2 separate regions of the Homo sapiens genome follow, and region 1 is linked to region 2. Evidence: promoter capture Hi-C in 16 types of primary human blood cells and fetal thymus (Javierre and others, 2016). All regions are on one chromosome and are shown on one strand. Each heading gives the region's core, a stretch centred on a gene start or on the middle of the fragment in contact. The rest is flanking DNA. Distances are from core to core; before and after follow the strand shown. Region 1 overlaps LOC105377282 (a long non-coding RNA gene). Region 2 holds the start of ODAPH (odontogenesis associated phosphoprotein).

Region 1 (2,700 bases), core at 31-2,530, 680 kb after region 2:
TTGCCCAATTGTTTAAAGGGAAACTTGAAGTCATGTAAAGAACGTGGCTTAATGAACCTCATATACTGTACAATTTAATTTTTGATTGTAGGTTCAGGACTTTTTCCTGATCTCCATTTTTTTTAATACTCCCTTATTAGGTGTTTTAAGAAGGGATTATTACTCAACAGATGTTAGTATCCTTACTCTCAAATAGTAGACTACTTATTCTTTGTTTATATTTTTGTTGTTCATATAGATGTTTTTATGATAAGAGCACTAATATTTTTAACAAATCCTTCTAATTGGCCTCTGCAAATTCTAGACTAAAGTCTCAGTTCAATTTCATAATGGTAACAGGAGTACGAGGCACCCTTGTGTTGTTACTTCCTTTTTATCTGTACTTTGCTCAGGTAGCTGCACTAGTAAACTGAATAGAAACTCCAATTGCATTTGGCTGGTGCAGCTGTGGCATCACTGTGCTAGCTATCATGAAGCTTTCTGCATGTCTCAGGCATCTTGAGAACAGCTCTACCATATCTTTGGAAACTCCAAATGCATTAGAGTCTGGAATATCCTTTCCTCAGAGACAGGAAAAGGAGGCAAGGAAGTATTCTTTCCGCTAAAGTCAGAATAAATAATAATGACTGTCTAAGGTCAATGTGGAGGGGTATCTCACAGCAGCCACTCTTCTTTGCTTGGTGACTTCCTGTTTAGCTAGTAAATAGGAAAACCCAAAGACATTAGTGAAAGTATTTCATTTTACCCAGACTTTGCCTCATTGTGAGCTGGTGAGCAAGTACAGGGGTTCACATAAAATGTTTGGCTGCTTCCAGAGAAACCAAAACCTACTTCAGAAAAAGATCAGCAGTGAGACCAATGTGTGAAGAGAACTTTAGGAAAACATAAAGCAAAACAGATTAGTGGCTCTCAACACCAGGTCCAATGAAAGGCAAGTGTTCCTCCAATGTCTTTGTGCCTGATCTGATTGATAATATTTATTTATTTTTTGTTTATATGATAGGCCCAATCTTCCTAGTTGCCCAAGGAAAAACCAATGGCTAAGTATATAAGGCTAAATAAGAGTGGATTCCTCTTCTCCTCTAGGTCTTGTTCAGTTTGCTGTGTTCTCTACTGCCATCTGGTGGTCAAGAAGGATCAATCACTGCCCTTGCAATGAAGAACTCTATGAAAGCGAAGGCTTGGCCATTTTGTGTTCAGCTCCTTCCAGTAAATACTCCATGGCATGATTATTTATTTTTCCTTTTCTCTTATTCATAAATCAGAGTGGCTGTTTGAACTTAACCACCCTTATCAAAATCTTTAAAAATATTTAAAATATTTTGACCCAGTGCTTCCACTTTTATAATCTCAAAGAAACATAAGCAGACAGATTTATGTATGAGCATGTTTCTCAAAGTGTTATTTATAATAGCAAAATTGGAACTACCACAAATGTTCAAAAATAGGAATTGTTAAAATTGGAGTGTTCTGTACCACTATTCACTCACGCTTTAGAAGAACATTTAATGACATGGGAAAATGTTTATAATATATTATGAAGTGAACAAACACAGTTAAAAAGCAAGTAAAACTTCACAATCTCCATTTTGGCTTTCTGTGTATTTCCTCCTTTCAAAGGCATGAACATATAATACTTTGGGAACCAGAAAGAAATGCCACCATAAATATTTTATAAATATGGTTACCTGCATGGTAGAGTATCAGTATCAACTTTTTTTTTAAAGTAACACGTCTTTTAAGATATCTATCCTAGAACTTTATTAAAAACATACTTCTACAGAATATCAGTGCAAAGGATCGTGAACAATTGCTTTAGTGTTCTTGGGATCAGGAATAATCCAGGAAGCCAGAGCATGCAGCTGCCACTTCAGGTTTGCTAATGAGTCTTGTGGCTAAGATAAAAAGCATGTTATTTGTTGCATGACCCTAAAGAGTTATTAATTTGTTCTAAGGCTTATATTTTGCTCCCAAGAGTTGTTGGTGGGGATGTGGAAGATGATGCAATTCAAATCACTGTGCAGTATGTGCAGTAACCAGAGCTCTATTTTATAATTGGACACAGTCCATTTCTTAAAGCTTTTTCAAGACATAGCTTTGAGATTTTTCTTTGTACAATGAAAAGGTACACAGAGACTGCTTTGCTTGCTTCACTGGGTAATTAGCCCACAAAGAGAAGATTGAAGGTGCTCTCACGGGTTTCTTTAAATGGAGCTAAGAGCAGCTGCCCTTGGGTCCTAGGAGCAGCTGTGTGGCTAGCCAAACCCAGCTAGAAGGTGTTCCTCCTACAGAGCTTTCTGTTTCACATTTGTTCACTTAATACATTTGGACACAATTTCCATATACATGGTTAACATGTCACTTCTGTCTACCCTAAGGGCACCAGGTGGTAGCTCCAAGAAGAGGAAATCATTTTCGGAGTTCCCTGCTGGCTCAATCAACACTTTTCACTTCTCCTAATGAGATGGTTAACCTGTTTTTTTCATTTAGCCATTTGGTCAACAAAACTTTAATGGCTGTTATAGAGTAGTTTATAATTTCCACACTTACAGGCATTAACACCATTACTATTAGATTGGGAAACAGAGATTCGACTAATCCTCCAGCTTAAGCTGAAAACATATCTCCATAGAGATTTTTCACTGAATTAATTCTACTAAATTCTTGGGTCAAACACAGTTAATGTTTCTGCTTAGTCAT
Region 2 (2,700 bases), core at 116-2,615:
CGACCTCAGGTGATCTGCCCACCTCGGCCTCCCAAAATGCTGGGATTACAGGTGTGAGCCACTGTACCCAGCCTCAGTGGGTGTTTTTAAGATGTGAATAAAATAAATCTCTAATCTCATTATAACTTGTTTAGCTATGTGTTTACAAAGCCTCCTGAAGAGCGGTTCACTTTTTGCAGAGAAAGTGGCAGGTGGCTAGTTTTGTTTTATGATGCTTCTTTTAGATGTCACTTTTAGTAGGTGAGGCTTGGGGGCCTTGCCTTGGGATATGGGGGCAGGTTTTGTTCATAATCTATGCCCTGTCCCCTGATTGCCAGAGTGTGTGCAGAGGTTGGATCAGGGGGTTTCTGAGTGTTCCACAACCAGCTCTTATGTCTCTCCCCTCCTCCTGTCTATTGTGAGCTCTGAGGGATGGGAACGGGGAATCTGTCTGGGGATGAGCAGGGTTTGGCTGAGCCCCTGCAAAGCCCCCTACCCAAGACATGTGAAAGGGGTGAAGTGCTCTGTTTGACTCCTAGGTCCATCTTCCGTAAACAGCATCTAGTTTTGGAATTAAAATAAACTGAAGAAAAGGTTAGATCTAGGCTCCCCAAGATTTCCTCCCCTTGTATTTCCCTCTTTTCATCCCTTCCCCAGCCTTTTCTTTCCTTTTCCTAGGGGTTTGCAAACCAATTGTAAGGCTCAGGACACATTTTGTAGTGGGAACAAAGAAAGAGAATAGGAACAGTTGAGAAATGGAATCTAATAAAATCCTAAAGAAAGAAACCTGTGCCCACCTCTGTGGCACCAAAATGCAGCTCAATAGATGTGATTAATTAAAGCAATGAACAAAGACTAAATACCCACCATGTGCAAATTAATATGCTGCTGGAGATAGAAAGTGGACAGTGCTGTAATTCAAAGTGGAATTGTTAGCTTTGTAACCATAATAACTAGTATTTGTACAGTGTTTTTAGCTTGAAGAGTTTTTCACAGATGATAGCTCATTTGGTCCTTGCAAACCCCATAACGATGGATATTGTTAATGTTGTCACTTCACATATGAGGAATCTGATACTCAGAGATTTTAAGTGTGTCTAAAGTCACAGAGCTATTGCTGAGACGAGGACCAAGGTCTTCAGGTGACAAAATCCAACTTCCTTCTCTTTAACCACACAGGCTGATGGAAGCTGAGGTAAATATTTCCAATTTATGGGAACGTATAATCATGGAGCCAGTTTTGTCTTTTCCTACAACTTATTAATTAGTGGACCCACAGTAGAATAAAAGCAAAACCCTTACCTTCTGCCACAGTTACCACCAACCAGCATACCAGTAACCAGTAGGAGAAGCAGTGTCTGCGAGCCATGGCTTCTACTGAGCAGTCACTGCGTTGAACCTGATGTTGCTTTAAAGGGGAGCTGGTGAGTCACCAGCAGCCTGATTCAGGTAATTTGCATTTGCACAGTGGACCACAGAGATCAGGGCTTGCGGTGTGAGGGTAAGAAATCAGCAAGGAAATACCAGACAGTATTTGTCAACCAGAAGCTTCTTGGAATGACAGCCAGATATCAATCATCTCCCCCCAGAGGGGGATTTTGGACAACCGCACCTTCACCATCCTTCTAATCTCTCAAATCTTCTCCCATGTTAGTGCCTTTTAGTTGTGTATATCAGTCTTCCTCTGCAAGAGAAATAAGCTGTCCAGAAATATGCAACAGTGCTTCTCTCTGTGCAGCTTACCTACTTAAAAAGCGAAACAAGAGGGAGAGGGCATTACCCGGAGGCTTCCTGACCCCGGTGGTTTGCAGTGGAGAGTTGGGGATCATTCTTAGGCCCCCAACCAGGGTTTATGCTGCTTCTCTGCTCTGCTTTTGTCCAGGAGGTGAGGGCAGCAGAATCAGAAAGTGATCTTCCCTAGTGGTCATGATGGTCACTGTCTAAACAAACATAAACATTGGGAGAGTAACTTAGTGAGTCGTCCTTTCACGGCTCCTCCTGATTCACCATATTGCATATAAAATGGACATGACATGTCTATGTCCAGTTGGTTTCCTGAGAGAAAGACTTCATCAGCTGCTGGATATATGAGAGGGGATTGTCACAGGTGATTAAGAACATGGACCTTGGAGTCAGGTAAAATTCCAGTCTTTGTTCCTTTTCTTACTAGCTGAGTGACTGTGGTGAGTCCCTGAGACTTGCTGAAGCCTCAGGGGCCTCACCTGTAAAATGGGACTTGTGGTACTACCCTCAGAGGAATTTGTGAATTAAGGAGATGCTTTTAAAAAAAATTTTTTTTAAATTTCAATCTTTTGGGGTACGAGTGGTTTTGGGTTACATGGATGGACTCTATGGTGGCGAACTCTGAGATTTTAGTGCACTCGTCACCCGAGCAGTGTACACTGCACCCAATATGTAGTCTTTTATCCCTCACCTCCTTCCCAACCTCCCCCACCCCTAGCCTCTAAAGTCCATTATATCATTCTGTATGTCTTTGTGTCCTCATAGCTCAGCTCCCACGTATAAGTGAGAACATACGATATTTGGTTTTCCATTCCTGAGTTACTTAACTTGGAATAATGGCCTCCAGCTCCATCCAAGTTGCTGCAAAAGACATTATTTCATTTTTTTATGGCTGAGTAGTATTCCATGGTGTATTTCTACCACATTTTCTTTATCCACTCGTTGGTCGATGGCCACTTAGTTGGTTTCATATCAAGG

What was found. Contacts are between HindIII fragments. The CHiCAGO score rates a contact against its expected background, and 5 or more counts as called.
Region 1: a fragment that was not itself captured here is called in contact with the fragment with the promoter of ODAPH in region 2 in 1 of 17 cell types (M0 macrophages); the score reaches 5.3 in M0 macrophages.

Annotation. Positions count from the first base shown.
Region 1 is chr4:74,873,377-74,876,076 of GRCh38, reverse strand. It overlaps LOC105377282 (a long non-coding RNA gene), which reads left to right. Exons shown (of 4, transcript XR_938886.2): 3 at 1,087-1,209. Among named protein-coding and RNA genes, the nearest start is that of PARM1, 58 kb to the left of the region's middle. The HindIII fragment of the contact is 1,603 bases long and covers 479-2,081 here.
Region 2 is chr4:75,554,731-75,557,430 of GRCh38, reverse strand. ODAPH (odontogenesis associated phosphoprotein) reads right to left here and starts at 1,365. Exons shown (of 2, transcript NM_178497.5): 1 at 1,282-1,365. The coding sequence starts at 1,348. RefSeq lists a silencer at 1,338-1,632. The HindIII fragment of the contact is 3,725 bases long and covers 1-1,529 here.